Linked DNA regions of Homo sapiens: regions 2, 3, 4 and 5 are each linked to region 1. The links are contacts of gene promoters, found by promoter capture Hi-C in blood cells and fetal thymus (Javierre and others, 2016). All regions are on one chromosome and are shown on one strand. Each heading gives the region's core, a stretch centred on a gene start or on the middle of the fragment in contact. The rest is flanking DNA. Distances are from core to core; before and after follow the strand shown.

What was found. Contacts are between HindIII fragments. The CHiCAGO score rates a contact against its expected background, and 5 or more counts as called.
Region 2: a fragment that was not itself captured here is called in contact with the fragment with the promoter of ACAP3 in region 1 in 7 of 17 cell types (M0 macrophages, naive CD4 T cells, activated CD4 T cells and 4 more); the score reaches 10.2 in M0 macrophages.
Region 3: a fragment that was not itself captured here is called in contact with the fragment with the promoter of ACAP3 in region 1 in 6 of 17 cell types (naive CD4 T cells, naive CD8 T cells, total CD8 T cells and 3 more); the score reaches 9.6 in naive CD4 T cells.
Region 4: a contact is called between a fragment that was not itself captured here and the fragment with the promoter of ACAP3 in region 1, in 11 of 17 cell types (naive CD4 T cells, activated CD4 T cells, total CD4 T cells and 8 more). The highest score is 16.4, in naive CD4 T cells.
Region 5: a contact is called between a fragment that was not itself captured here and the fragment with the promoter of ACAP3 in region 1, in 10 of 17 cell types (naive CD4 T cells, total CD4 T cells, total CD8 T cells and 7 more). The highest score is 9.3, in naive CD4 T cells.

What each region holds. Positions count from the first base shown.
Region 1 is chr1:1,306,382-1,309,298 of GRCh38, reverse strand. ACAP3 (ArfGAP with coiled-coil, ankyrin repeat and PH domains 3) reads left to right here and starts at 1,369. Exons shown (of 24, transcript NM_030649.3): 1 at 1,369-1,530. The coding sequence starts at 1,484. PUSL1 (pseudouridine synthase like 1) reads right to left here and starts at 702. Exons shown (of 8, transcript NM_153339.3): 1 at 579-702; 2 at 327-384; 3 at 26-213. The coding sequence starts at 655. RefSeq lists silencers at 61-190, 201-340, 371-440, 661-1,340, 1,381-1,550 and 1 more. The HindIII fragment of the contact is 38,674 bases long and covers 1-2,917 here.
Region 2 is chr1:1,066,070-1,068,986 of GRCh38, reverse strand. It overlaps LOC100288175 (a long non-coding RNA gene), which reads right to left. Exons shown (of 4, transcript NR_148960.1): 4 at 2,534-2,917. It overlaps LOC105378948 (a long non-coding RNA gene), which reads left to right. Exons shown (of 5, transcript NR_168433.1): 1 at 1-426; 2 at 947-1,189; 3 at 2,189-2,241; 4 at 2,389-2,521. Among named protein-coding and RNA genes, the nearest start is that of RNF223, 6.8 kb to the left of the region's middle. RefSeq lists a silencer at 84-273. The HindIII fragment of the contact is 4,423 bases long and covers 1-2,917 here.
Region 3 is chr1:1,100,398-1,103,314 of GRCh38, reverse strand. The region is part of intron 1 of C1orf159 (chromosome 1 open reading frame 159); the gene reads left to right. Among named protein-coding and RNA genes, the nearest start is that of C1orf159, 14 kb to the left of the region's middle. The HindIII fragment of the contact is 5,940 bases long and covers 1-2,917 here.
Region 4 is chr1:1,129,805-1,132,721 of GRCh38, reverse strand. All of the region lies in intron 1 of LOC124903820 (a long non-coding RNA gene), which reads right to left. Among named protein-coding and RNA genes, the nearest start is that of LINC01342, 5.8 kb to the left of the region's middle. The HindIII fragment of the contact is 4,801 bases long and covers 1-2,917 here.
Region 5 is chr1:1,150,755-1,153,671 of GRCh38, reverse strand. All of the region lies in intron 1 of LOC124903820 (a long non-coding RNA gene), which reads right to left. Among named protein-coding and RNA genes, the nearest start is that of MIR200BHG, 11 kb to the left of the region's middle. The HindIII fragment of the contact is 7,276 bases long and covers 1-2,917 here.

The DNA.
Region 1 (2,917 bases), core at 120-2,619:
AGGGCTGCTTAGGTCGCGGGCTCACCTGATGGCCGGGTGCCGCAGGTGTGTGTTGAGGGCCTCGGCCAGGACCTCGGGCGGGAAGGGCGGCCGGCCTGAGCGGCGCTGGACGTCCAGGTGCGCCGCGTTGCTCAGGGCGTGGACCCCGGCGTCCGTGCGGCTGGAGATGGTGAACCTGACCGGCTCCACGGAATTCAGCCGCTCGGCGGCCTCCTGCAGGACCGAGCCGCGGGGCGGGCGGGTGAGCGAGGCCGGACCCCGGGGACGCGCGGGCGGGAGCCTCCCCCTTACCCCTCACCGGGCGTCCCGTGACCGGCTGAGCGCACCTCCAGGTAGTTCTGGACCCCGACGGCGCGCTGAGTGCCCCTGACGGCCGCGACCCCGCTGCGGGCAGAAGCGGGCGGAGGTTACCGGGGGCGCCCTGCCCTGGGGTCTCCGCCGCCGTCTGAGGCCAGGGCCGCTTCCTTCCCCGAACGTTTGGAACCCGCGTCCAGAGACATCCGCCTGCCCGCCCGCGCCCTCCTTCCCGCCTCCGCCCGGGCCCACGTGGCGCCCGCCGCTGCGCCTGGGAAACCTACTTAAAGTCGGTGCCCACGTACTGGAAGTACACAAGATAGCGCGCGCGCACGGAGCCTGAGGCCGGCGCCGAACTCATGGCGGAGCCCAGCCGGTGGCGTCAGAGGCGGCCTCCAGCGCAGGAATCCTGCGCGCGCGCGGACGCGGCCTGGTCACGCCCCCCCCCCCTCCCCCCCGGCCCCGGCCGCTCTTGCGCCTGCGCGGTGGCACCGCGCCACGGCGGCCAGAGTCGGGGAGCGGAGGCGGGGCCGGGCTTAGGGAGCGGCTGCAAAGTGCCGGCCCGCCGCCGAGCGCAGGCGCTCTACCTCTATCGCGGCGCCCCGGGAGGCGCGCACCAACCACGCGGTCACCCCGCGCTCTCGCGGGCGTGCATTCGTTCACTCGCTCATTCATTCGCCGCCGCCCACACTCCCCGAGCGCGCCCGTTCGCCGCGTTGCGGCCAAGTCCTCCCAGACGTGGTTTTTGCAAACGCCCTGAGTTGCGCAACGGCCGGGATGGTTGGAGCGGGCGGGCCCGCGCCCTCCCCGCGCCCTCCCCGCGCCCCACATTTCCACCGACTGTCCCCGGAGACGGCCGTGGCAGGCCCCGCCTCACTTCCGGACCGGGGTGGTCCCTGGACGCTGCGAGAGGCGTTTGGCGACGCTCCCCGGCGGTGACAGCGGGCGGCGCGCGCGGGCGGCGGACCTTGGCGACGCTCCCCGGCAGTGACAGCGGGCGGTGCGCGCGGGCGGCTGACTTTGGCGACGCTCCCCGGCGGTGACAGGCGGGGCGGGGCGCGGCGCGGCGGCCTCATTCCGGGGCGGGCGGGCGCCGAGGCGGCGCGGGCGGGACGAGCGGTCCGGGCCGGCGCGGCTGCCGCTCGGCGCCGCGGTCCTCGTGCCAGTGAGCGCCGCGGCCGCCGCAGCCATGACCGTGGAGTTCGAGGAGTGCGTCAAGGACTCCCCGCGCTTCAGGTGCGCCGCCCGGGGCCGCCGGGGTGGGCGCAGGCCGGGGGCGTCGCTGTCGCCTTTGTGCCCGGCGGCGGGGTGGGGAGGTCAGCGCCGGGCCGGGCCGCGGCCGCCGGGGAGGGGCTGGAGGACCGGCCTCGGACAAAGCGGCGGCCCCGCCCCGCCATGCCCCGGGGGTTGGAACAAAAGACGCTCCTGCCCTGTGCGGCCGCCCCGGGTGGAGGGCGTGCGCGTGGGCAGCCGTGGGCACCTCGGGACCGTCCGCCCCCGCTCTGTGTCTGCACCTCCACTGGGCTGAGCCCCTCCCGGGCCCTGCAGTCCAGCTCTGGCCAGGGTCGTCTGGGTCCGTGGGGGCGTCGGCCCCTGGTCTCTGACTTGATCCTGTGTCCAGAGCAGCGCGTGGGGAACAGGCAGCTGGAGCCGCGTTTAAGGCCTGGGGTAGGGTGCTTGGAAACGTGAAGTGGTTTGAATGACCCAGGGGCTTGGAGGGGTGGCGGCCGAGAAGAGCGGCGGGGAAGGTCAGGTAGGGGGTAGGGGTTGTGTGCACACCGAGTCTGCATGTTTTCCATCATTCGTGGCGTGCAGGCGTGTACACCTGCGTGAACTACATGTTCACAGACGTGTGCACAAGTGTGCATCGGCTTTGCTTGGTGGACATTTGGCAAACGACAATGGAGGCAAAGAAACCTCTCTGCATCCCCAAGTGCGCACCTGCGTGAGGCCCCCTCCTCTGCACGAGCTCGTGCGGGGTGCGCTCTTGTGAACTTTGCCCCTCTGCGTGCCTCCCTCCGGACACCAGGCCTTGCACAGGACGTGTGGATGAGCTGTGCCACGGGGCTGTGCTTGCTTCTGCATGTAGCCTGCCGATGAGTGCACGCAAGCGTGTGCACACACCACCTGTCTGTGTGGGTTCACGTACTGTGTTAGCCATGTCAGCAATAGACACATCACCTTGTACACGCGTGTTCCATCACTAGGTACACATGTTGATGCGTGTCTGTGCAGTGTCTCCTTGAACACACATGTATGTGTGGTACCAGTGTGTGCAGGCATGTTTGTGCATGAACATGTTTGCACATGTGTGCTTGATTGTGTATGTGTGGGTGTGCACGCGCGCGCTGGGTCTCTTGGGATCTGCTGGCAAGTCAGCATGTGTGTGGAGGCACGGGGAGCCTCTGTATCCCTGGAGCCCTCACCAGGAGGCTCAGGAGCCTTGGAGTGGGAGGCTCAGGGCCAGCCAGGAGAGTGGCCGCCAGCCCTGGGCAGAGGAACTGGGGCCATCCTCTGCTCTCCCATCTTCTGTTGCTGACCTGGGAAAAGGGGTTGAATAACTTGAGCACCCTAGGATCCTGCATTGAGGACCCGGGCTGTGGGGAGGTGTGGGCATGGCCTC
Region 2 (2,917 bases), core at 203-2,702, 240 kb after region 1:
TGCCTGCGGATGACGTCCACCAGGATGTCAATCACGATGATGGTGCCCGTGCATCCGATGCCCCCACTGAGGACAAACTAGGCGGCCTTTGACGAGAGTGGGGGGCGGGGGCGGGGGCGCCCCCGCCCACCCGATGGCTCCGCCCTCGTCGTCCCGCGTGGCCCCGCCCCGCCGCACCTGCACCTGCACAGCCCGCGTGGCCCCGCCCCGCCGCACCTGCATCTGCACAGCCCGCGTGGGCCCGCCCCGCCGCAGCTGAAGTGCACCACCATGGGCCCGGCCCGCGGCTTGCTGCTCTGGGCCCGGTTCACCTCGTCCCGGAAGCCGAGGACGCCGGCGGGATCGGCCCGGACGCCGTAGTCCGGCCAGCCGAAGTACTGGAAGTGCTGCACCGTACGCTGTGGCTCCTCCTGAGCGGGGCAAGCGGTGAGTGTGACCCCAGGGTGGGAGGAGGAGGCTGAGGCACAGCTGGGTTTCCGGGAGTGCCCAAGCGGAGGGGCTGCGGGAGCCAAGGCGAGCAGGAGGAGGAGGAAGGAAATGGGGAGGGGGCGCCGAGATGGCCCCAGGTGGCTCAGGTGCCTGGGGAAGGGAAGAGGGAGCTGGGGGCGGGCGAAGCAGGCTGTGAGGACAGTTATTTTATAAGGAAAAACCAAATGTGAGGGGTCCATGGGGTCCTGGAGGACCCCCCCACACACACTGGGCGGGGGCTGGAGGGAACACGAGGTAATCTGCCCGGAGCAGAAATGGGCGTCTCTGGTATACAACGGAGACCAAAGCTGCAGTTGGAGAGGTGTGTGGGAGGAGCGGCCGCCAGCCCAGGGCTGAGAATGTGGCCACGTCAGTGACCCCTGTCCAGGCTTGGAATGCACCTCCTGGGTTGAGGGGTGTGGAAGCCCCCAAAGGCAGTGGGGTTGGATGCAGGCAGGTGTGGGGTCTCCCAGTGCAGGCCGACAGCAGGCACGCTCCACAGCCGCCAGGCTCACCTGGCCCGGCCGCCACACCTGCAGCTCCCGCACGCAGTAGCCCTGGGCCTGGCCCTTGCCGAGGACGCGCATGTGCACACGGCCGAACTCTTGGCTGCCGGGCAGCTCTGGCCAGTCCCGGAAACACTTGTTCCGAGGGGAGCGCTTTGCATCAGCCTTGCTGGCAGCACCTCGGCACCCCGCCCCTGCGACCTGCAGAGACGCAGGTGTGTACGTGCAGCCACGGGGCTCTGTGGGAGCCTCCCCACTCCCACGGCGTCCCACAGCCTCCTTGGCCTGGTCGGGAAGGGCCTTGGGCAGCCGAAGATGCACGGGGTGGGATGGGCACTGGGAGCACTGGCACCGCACCCCTACCCGGCCCCGCTCCATCTCCCTGGTGGTCATGACGATGACACGCGTGTTCTCCTGGTGCACCGTGGCCCAGAAAGCAGCCACCGTGGCCTGCAGACAGGCCTGCAGACAGCCCTGCAGGCGATGTACACCCTGCGCCCGCGAGGCCCTGCCCCGCGGGGAGGAGCCACAGCGTACGGTGCAGCACTTCCAGTACTTCGGCTGGCCGGACTACGGCGTCCGGACCGATCCCGCCGGCGTCCTCGGCTTCCGGGACGAGGTGAACCGGGCCCAGAGCCGCGAGCCGCGAGCCGCGGGCCGGGCCCATGGTGGTGCACTTCAGCTGCGGCGGGGCGGGCCCACGCGGGCTGTGCAGGTGCAGGTGCGGCGGGGCAGGGCCACAAGGGATGTCCACCCTGCCCCTGCCATGGCCCGGCTCCTCCTCAGGGTCAGTCTGAAAGGGAATGAGGCCAACTGCTGCTGTTAACAGAGGACAAACAAGTCCATGCAAATGCTATGCAAATGATATGCAAACGACACACAAATATTATGCAAAGAGCCCTGGTGGCTTAAACACACTCCTCACTCCAGGCCAGCAAGGGGCTGAGGACCAATGCCCGTCCAGCCTCTCTGAGGACCCCTTGGAGACTGCCGCCCACCCCTCCCTTGGGGACCCTGGTTCTTCCTGAGCCCCCCAGGAGCAATGGGCCCAGGCCCCGCCTCCCGCACACACCCACCCTGATGTAGTCGGCTCCGGGCCCGCTGTCATCCTCGTTGAGCAGGATGACTCAAGGGTAGCATCAACTGGGAAGGGAGGTGCCGCTCAGTTCTCCAGGGCACAGCTCGTGGGCCTCACCCTGCCTCTTTGCCCGCAGACCCTGTGGTGAGCAGAGATGGAGGGTCCAGGGTATGCAAGGGGGAGCCTCAGGTCAGCGGTGGCAGATGCTCGGCCTGCCCCCCACCTCCCCCAGGCCCGACGGGTGACGCCCTGGCCTCCGCCCTCACAGGGAAGGATGTTCTTGTAGTGATTCTTGGGCTTGTTCTCCACACTCTGCCCCTCCTTCCGAGGGTACAGGAACCGGCATTCCTGCTGCTGCAGCATCTGGAGGTGATGGAGCCTTCAGCTCACAGCCCCGGCCCCTTCCCAGAGCCCGAGATGGCCACCCCCAGCCCGTCCCGTGTGGGCGGAAGAGTACCTAGGTGCCGAGGCAAGAGACTGAAGGCACAAACTGTTTCAGTATAATAAAGAAAATAGAATAAGAATAGTCATAATACAAATTAGATACAGCGATGATCATGAACAATTATCCATCATTATTATAAACATTATTAATCATTAGCTTTTAATATTACTCTGTTGCATTAATAATATAACCTAGGAATAACCGGCAGGTATAGGGTCAGGTGCTGAAGGGACATTGTGAGAAGTGAATAGAAGGCAAGAGGGGAGCCTTCTGTCATGCCCGCATAAGGGCCGCTTGAGGGCCCCTTGGTCAAGCGGTAACGCCAGTGTCTGGGAAGGCACCCGTTACTGAGCAGACCGGGAAAGGGAGTCTCCTTTCCTTGGAGGAGTCAGGGAACGCTCTGCTCCACCAGCTTCTTGT
Region 3 (2,917 bases), core at 207-2,706, 210 kb after region 1:
TATGACCTAGCTGTTGGAATAGTCAAAAAAGCACTTTGGAGCAGGTTTAGTGTCTGTGCTCAGTGAAGAAAAGGGAAATGCACGCATAATGAACAAAGTGCCGGAAATCTCAGCGAGGAAACATGTTTAAATGAGCCAAATGGGAATTTTAGGTCAAACAAACACAAGATCTGGCTGGGCGTGGTGGCTCACGCCTGTAATCCCAGCACTTTGGGAGGCTGAGGTAGGTGGATCACCTGCGGTCAGGAGTTCAAGACAAGCCTGACCAACATGGTGAAACCCCGTCTCTACTAAAAATACAAACAGCAACAACAAAAATTTAGCAGGGCTTGGTGGTGGTCGCCTGTAATCCCAGCTACTCGGGAGGCTGAGGCAAAGAATCACTTGAGCCCAGGAGGCAGAGGCTGCAGTGAGCCCAGATCATGCCACTGCACTCCAGCCTGGGGCTGGGGGACAAGAGTGAAACTCTTGTCTCAAAAAAAAACAAGATCTGAAATTTTATTTTATTTATTTATTTTTGAGACAGTTCTACTCTGTCACCCAGGCTGGAGTTCAGTGGCACGATCTCGTCTCACTGCAACTTCTGCCTCCCAGGTTCAAGTGATTCTCCTGCCTCAGCCTCCTGAGTAGCTGGGACTACAGGTGCCCACCACTACGCCTGGCAATTTTTTTTTTTTTTTTTTTTTTTTTTTTTTTTTTTAGTAGAGACAGGGTTTCGCTATGTTGGCCAGGCTTGTCTTGAACTGACCTCAGGTGATCCACCTACCTCAGCCTCTCAAGGTGCTGGGATTACAGGCGTGAGCCACTGTGCTTGGCCAAGATCTGAAATTTTAAAATTCACTGAATGAACATAACAGAAGGGAAATAACAGAGAAAATAGGCAGAGTCCTCAAAGACAGAGGAATAGAAATCATCCAAGCTGGAAAAAAAAAAAAGGGTGGAAGTGATTGGAGGAAAATAAAACAAAACCATGAACAGAGCCTCTGGGACCTGTAGGTGATATCTAAGCCTCAGGGACCTTAGGTGATATCAACATGTCTAACACATGGGTAATTACAGAGGTCCAGGAGAGGAGAGGCACAGTGGACAGAAGTACTTGAAGAAACAGTAACCAGAAACTTTCAAATTTGGTGAAAGACATAAATGTTTAGTTTTAAGAATCCCAAACAGGATAAATGAGAATAAAACCACACCTGGACCCATCACTTCAAAAGTTTGTTTTTTTTTTTTTTTTTTTTTTTTTGAGACAGAGTTTTGCTGTTGTCGCCCAGGCTGGAGTGCAGTGGTGCGATCTCGGCTCACTGCAACCTCTACCTCCCAGTTCAAGCGATTCTCCTGCCTCAGCCTCCCATGTAGCTGGGACTATATGCCCGTGCCACCATGCCCGATTAATTTTTGTATTTTTAGTAGATACGGGGTTTCTCCATGTTGGCCAGGCTAGTCTCGAACTCCTGACCTCAGGGGATCTGCCTGCCTCAGCTTCCTAAAGTGCTGGGATTACAGGTGTAAGCCACCACACCCAGCCCTAAAACTATTAAAAACTAAAGATTAACTTTAAAAATCTTGAAAGCAGCCAGAGAAAAACAACAGATCACACACAGCACAGCACTGTGAAGACTGAGCTGATAAACCATGAGCCAATAGACCGTGAGCCGACAGACTGTGAGCTGATTGATAGACCATGAGCCGACGGACCCTGAGCCAATAGACTGAGCTGATTGATAGATGTGAGCCAATGGACCCTGAGCCGATAGACCATGAGCTGACAGACCCTGAGCTGATAGACCATGAGCTGATAGACTGAGTCTGTGAGATTTAAAAAAAAATTTTTTTTTATACAGTCTTGCTCTGTTACCAAGGCTGGAGTGCAGTGGTACAGTCTCAGCTTACTGCAACCTCTGCCTCCTGGGTTCAAGCGATTCTTGTGTCTCAGCCTCCCAAGTAGCTGGGACTACAAGCGTGTGCTACCATGCTGAGCTAATTTTTGTATTTTTAGTAGAGATGGGGTTTTGCTATGTTGGCCAGGGTGGCATCAAACTCCTGGCCTCAAGTGACCCACCCACTTGGCCTCCCAAAGTGCTGGGATTACAGGCGTGAGCTGCCACGCCCGACCAAGTTTGTGAGTAATTATGGAGACCAGAAGAAAGTGGAACTGCTGAAAGAAAAAAAAAGCATAGAATTCTGTATTCTCTAAGAATAAACATTACATGAAAATATTTTCAGAAAAAGGAAAACTGATAAAATTTGTCACCATCAAATTGTGCTACCGGAAATGCTGAAGATAGTATATACTACAGTGAAACTCAGATCTTTAAGAATGAATGATGAACATCAAAATTAGTAAATATCTGGGGAAAAATTAAAACATCTCTTGGGTTTATAATGTATGCAGATATGACAGCCACAACGTGAAGAGTAGTAGAGGGGATCCGTGGACTGTACAGTTGCAAGGTGTCTACATGTCTACATTTTGCATAAAGTGGTATAATGCTAGTTCTAAGTAGACTAGAAAAAGCAAGGTTGAAATTGCAATTCCTAGAGCAACAACTATGAGAATAATGGAAAGAAGCACAACTAAAGGGCCAAAAGATAACTTGGAAAGGAATTTTTAAAACTTCAAATCACGCAAAAGAGGGCCAGAAAGAGAATAGAGGAACAAAAAACACAGGGACAATCAGAAAACAAATAATAAACGGTAAAAACGGTAGACCTGAAATCCAACGATAGTGTCATTATACACTTGCCAAAGCTCAGCACCAAGAACGTGCAGCACCAAGAGTGCGCCCTCGTGTCAACCATGGACTTTGAGTGGTGGTGATGTGTCACTGTCGGTGTGTCAGCTGCAACAAGTGGGATGCTGAGGGTAAGGCTGTGCCTGGGTGGGCACAGCGGGGAGGCACAACTCCTTGTACTTAAC
Region 4 (2,917 bases), core at 208-2,707, 180 kb after region 1:
CCCTCCCCCTCCGAGGCTGTGAGAAAATACATTTCTGTTGCTTAAGTCCCCAGGCTCGGTATTTTGTTCCAGCAGCTGGAGCTAGGACAACCCCAGACGCACCCGGCCAGCCCTGAGGGAGGGCGTTCACCGGCTTCCCATACGCATTGTAGGAGGCCGCATGGGCACCCTCCTCAGCCCTGGGCACCCTTGTCGTACCTGACAACCCTGTGTAGATTCCCTGCAAGCATCCAGGGTCCAAGGCGGCCGCAGGCTCCTCAGACAAAGGGCTTCCTCCACACATGGGCTCAGGGCTACGGGCTCCCTGACATCGACCTCCCCGGCAGCCGCCCTGGTGTTTCTCCCATTTGCCAGCGGACACATCCCAGGTGACACCCCACCTCGGAAGAGGCCCTCCTGGCAGGTGCCTGGCCCCAATGCCCAACGCAGGGCTCGCGGCGGCGATGGCGGCGGGTCTCAGGCAGGAGTGGGATCTCTCTGCTGTCCGGTCCTGCCCCTTGCCCCTGAGAGGCCCCACAACCCCACCCCCAGCACACCCTGCATGGGCACCCCCGTCTCAGGCTCTGCCTCCCGTGCCCTGACCCTGGGCGCAGAGGGCCACGTGCCTGTGACTCCGCTTCCCTGGCGGTGAGGGGTCCGGCCTTGTGTCCCATGACTCGGGCTCTGCTCCCTGACGACCTCGCTGGGGCTGCCCCCACCCTTCCGTGGAGTCCTTTGCGACGGTTTCTAAGGGCTCAGAGTGCAGCATTGATTTCAACCATGTGTCTCTGTCATTAAAATAGTCCCCTGACTTTGCCTGTGGAATGTTTTGCTCTCTTCCCATTTTAAGTTAAATGTGGTCAGTGTGACGGAAGGAAATGCGGGTTTTTCTCCAGACCGTCTTGTGCAAGGAGAAGAAGCCTTGAAAAGAAGAGGCACAAACTATCAGGAACGTCCTCGAAGAGATGAGCGAAAGCACGTGGCCACAGAAAACCATGAGGATGCAACAGAAAGAACGACTCCGAGGGGCCGGGCGTGGCGGCTCACGCCTGTCATCCCAGCACTATGGGAGGCCGAGGCGGGCGGATCATGAGGTCAGGAGATCGAGACCATCCTGGCCGACACGGTGAAACCCCGTCTCTACTAAAAATACAAAAAATTAGCCAGGCATGGTGGTGGGCACCTGTAGTCCCAGCTACTCGGGAGGCTGAGGCAGGAGAATGGCGTGAACCAGGAGGCGGAGCTTGCAGTGAGCCGAGATCACATCACTGCACTCCAGCCTGGGCGACAGAGCGAGACTCCGTCTTAAAAAGAATGACTCCGAGGACAGAAACGAAAAGCGCTGGAAGGGACGGAGCCAGGACGTTCCCCGAACGTGACGTGAAAAGGCAAAGAAAATGGGATAGAAAAGGTGATTAGAGGACCTGCTCCAAATTGCAGCAATATTCACCAGAGAAAGAGAGAGCAACAACAAAAAGAAAAGATAAAGAACAAAATCATTTAAAAATTGTAATTCAAGAACATTTCCTGGAGCCGAAGCTCAGGCATTTCCAGACAGAAAGAGCCACTGAGGACCCCGTGAAAGGGATGAAAACGGAACCACACAAAGATCCACCTTCACAGGACAGCAGAGATGGAGACAAAAAGAAGGCCCCAAAAACTTTCAGGAAAAAACCCGCAGAAACAGGTTCCATACCAAGGCCCCGGGGTTGGGATGCCATTGCCGGACCCACAGCAGCCTCGGGAGCCGGGGACCCTGCGGCGAGGTTTTCTCAACTCGCAGGGAAGCGAAGGCCTTGGTGGGGGCCCGCCCTGTGCCCTTCACAGGCAGCTGCAGCTGTGGGCGTGGTGGGGGCCCACCCCCTGCACCTCACGGGGAGCTGCGAGGGGCTTGTTCCACCAAAACACTGAGAAGACAAGAAAGGGGAGGTGTGGGGCCCGGGAAAATCCCACCCAGGGGAGAAGCAATGGGACCTTTGTGACACGGACCACGAAGCCTGCAAGACGCCAGCCCTGCCCCAGGCCCGAGGGAGCCGACCAGCCCCGGGCAGGGCAGGAGGCTCCCGGAGGCCCCTCAGAAATACCTGGCGTGCCGGAATTTAAGTCATGGGGGAGAGTCTGAGGCTGAATTAGTAATGAGTTCAGAGAAAGCTAAGCAAGAAGAAAAGCAAAGGCGATTATTAACTTCAGGGAAACAGCTCAGAGTTCGGGTGAGAACAGGCGGCCACGGTGGACCTGGCACCAAGCTAGTCCCCGGCGCCCAGCAGAGTGACAGCAGAGACCAGGCGCGGCGCGTGACGGCGGGACGAGAGGTGGGAGGGCGGCAAACAGCCCCTTCCACAGGGCAGATTCAGGGCTGACCCTGAAGCTGGAGTGCTGAGAAGCTGCCGTTTGCCAGTGACGTTGGAAGTAAACACAGGAGCCTCCCAGCACACGGAGCTGGTGGCCTCGGCGCGGCCTGAAGATCATATGTGTCCAAGCCTTGCAGAAGTGTTTGACTCTCAAGCAACCTACAGGCATAACTGGTTTTTTTTTTTTTTTTTTTTTTTTTTTTTTGAGACAGAGTCTCACTCTGTTGCCCAGGCTGGAGGGCAATGGTGCCATCTGAGCTCACTGCAACCTCCGCCTTCCAGGTGCAAGCGATTGTCCTGCCTCAGCCTCCAGAGTAGCTGGAATTATAGGTGCCCGCCACCACATCCAGCTAATTTTTTTGTATTTTTAGTAGAGACAGGGTTTCATCATGCTGACCACGCTTGTCTCGAACTCCTGACCTCAAGTGATCCGCCCGCCTTGACCTCCCAAATGCGAACCACTGTGTCCGGCCACAAGCATAACTTTGATAGAAAAGGCAATAACAAATTAAGTTGGTGCGAGCTTTACCCTCTGAGTCCTCGGAATCATTTTTAAAACATAAAGGTTTCCAGAACTCACAGCTGTG
Region 5 (2,917 bases), core at 206-2,705, 160 kb after region 1:
AAAAAAATAAAATGCAATTGTTTACAGTCCCACTAGTGGAGAAACCTGATGGGCACAGCCTCAGCTGGGTGATGGAGGGGAGTGTTGACAGAGCTGGGTCGTGTGGAGAGCCTGGGTCCCTGAGAGGATGATAGAGCCGGGTCATGTGGAGAGCGTGGATCCCTGATGGGATGATAGAGCTGGGTCATGTGGAGAGCCTGGATCCCCAATGGGATGATAGAGCTGGGTCGTGTGGAGAACGCGGAACCCTGATGGGATGATAGAGCTGGGTCATATGGAGAGCCTGGGTCCCCGATGGGATGATAGAGCTGGGTCGTGTGGAGAGCCTGGATCCCTGACGGGATGATAGAACTGGGTCGTATGGAGAGCCTGGGTCCCCGGTGGGATGATAGAGCTGGGTCGTGTGGAGAGCCTGGATCCCCGATGGGATGATAGAGCTGGGTCGTGTGGAGAGCCTGGGTCCCTGAGAGGATGATAGAGCTGGGTCGTGTGGAGAGCGTGGATCCCTGATGGGATGATAGAACTGGGTCGTGTGGAGAGCCTGGGTCCCTGAGAGGATAATAGAGCCAGGTCATGTGGAGAGCGTGGATCCCCAATGGGATGATAGAGCTGGGTCGTGTGGAGAGCCTGGATCCCCAATGGGATGATAGAGCTGGGTCATGTGGAGAGCCTGAGTCCCTGAGAGGATGATAGAGCTGGGTCATGTGGAGAGCCTGGGTCCCTGAGAGGATGATAGAGCTGGGTCGTATGGAGAGCCTGGATCCCCGATGGGATGATAGAGCTGGGTCATGTGGAGAGCCTGGGTCCCTGAGAGGATGATAGAACTGGGTCGTGTGGAGAGCCTGGATCCCTGACGGGATGATAGAACTGGGTCGTGTGGAGAGCCTGGGTCCCCGATGGGATGATAGAGCCGGGTCATGTGGAGAGCATGGATCCCCAATGGGATGATAGAGCTGGGTCGTATGGAGAGCCTGGGTCCCTGAGAGGATGATAGAGCTGGGTCGTGTGGAAAGCCTGGATCCCCGATGGGATGATAGAGCTGGGTCATGTGGAGAGTCTGGATCCCTGATGGGATGATAGAGCTGGGTCATGTGGAGAGCCTGGGTCCCTGAGAGGATGATAGAGCTGGGTCGTGTGGAGAGCGTGGATCCCTGATGGGATGATAGAGCTGGGTTGTGTGGAGAGCCTGGATCCCCGATGGGATGATAGAGCTGGGTCGTGTGGAGAGCGTGGATCCCCGATGGGATGATAGAGCTGGGTTGTGTGGAGAGCCTGGAACCCGGACTCAATGGGGTGATGGGACACTGGGCTCTGGAACTTAGGACTCCATCCTCCTCTTCGCAAAACCCATAACCCCAGAGTATAATCATGAGAAAAACATCAGACAAACCCAAACTGAGGGACTCTCTACAAAACACCTGAGCAGCACTCCTCAAAACTGTCAAGGTTGCTAAACCAAGGAAAGTCTGAGAAGCTGTCACAGACCAAGGAGAGGTGACGAGGCCACGGGGCCTGGATGGGGTTCTGGGACGGAAAGGACAGGAGGGAAAAAGGCTGGCCAGCGTGTGGGGTTTAGCTGCTGGTCATCACTGGCTGCTGCGACAGACGGACCAGCTGACGTGCGGGTCTCACAGTGACGCCAGGTCTCTGTGATCTTTGAAACCCCTGTGCAACTTTTCTGTTGATCAGAAATTATTAGAAATAAAAAGTCTATTTAAATGTGTATTTAAAGTCCCACCAGTGACCTTTGTTGATGTCTTGCTGGTGGCAGAAGTGGCTGCTGTGAGCGGAGGCCCCGGGGGTAGCAGGAGACAGAGACGGAGGCCCCAGGGGCAGCAGGAGACAGAGGCAGAGGGGAGCGGGGCAGCCCCAGGCTGGGCAGAGCAGGAAGGGGCGTGGAGCCTCCGAGTCCTGGAGAGCCGAGGCCACAGAACGGACCGTGGCTGCCCCTCCTCGCACTCCACGCTCCCCCTGGGTGGGGCCGTTCTGGGTTTGGTGCCTTGAGCTCACCCTGAGGCTCTGGCTGGGCCCGAGCATTCTTGAGAGCCTGGCCTGGGCTTGGCAGTGCCACCGTCACCTCCACGTGTTGTCTGCTGGGGTTGCCGCCTCGACTCCGGGGAACTCGCCAGGGGTCCTGCCCCAAGAGACTGTGGGGAGGGGACCCTGGAGGCAAACCCTGTCTGGGACACGGAGGCCGGCCGTGCGGGAGGCAGGCGGCACTCCTGCTGGGTGGGGGGCCCGGGACAGGTGAACTGCGGAAGGGGCCTGGAGCCCGAGATCTGGGTGCCGGAGAAGGCCGTTGAGCGGTGAGGACCCCGGGCTTCTCAGACATCCTGAGCTGCGCAGGAAGGGCCCCCAGGTGGCTCCTCGGAACAGACGGGCAGGGCCCACCCCAGGGGCTGCTGACCTGGTTCTTAAACACACCGTGAGTCCTGAGGTTCTGGACCAGAGATGCCTCCAGACCAAGCCCTTAGGACCAAACTCGGGGAGCCTCAAGGGACGGTCGGTGACCCTCAGCACCATGGGCCCTGGGTAACTGCTCCCCAGCCAGTGTTCCCAGGGCTCGGCCGGGTCCCAGAAGGTGAGGGCACCTGGCGGAAACAGAACCTAGGGCTGCAGGCTTCACGACGCCTGGGAGGGAGCAGGCATGGAAATCCCAGCCCGCAGAACCAAAGCAGCCATGGAAATGTCTCAGGCAAATCACCCGGCAGCAGCCCCACCGGGCACGCAGGCCCTAGACGCAGCCCTGCTGCTCGCCAGGACCCCTCCCGGCCCCTCACCTCTGCTCCCCGGCACCCCCTCCCAGGCTCCTAGAGGCCCAGAGGGAATCTGGGGACTTGGGGCCTGAGAGAGGGATGAGGGCGGCTGCCCCAGGGTCCCCAGGGAGTCCGAGGCTGCCCTCAGGTCCGGTGGGTGA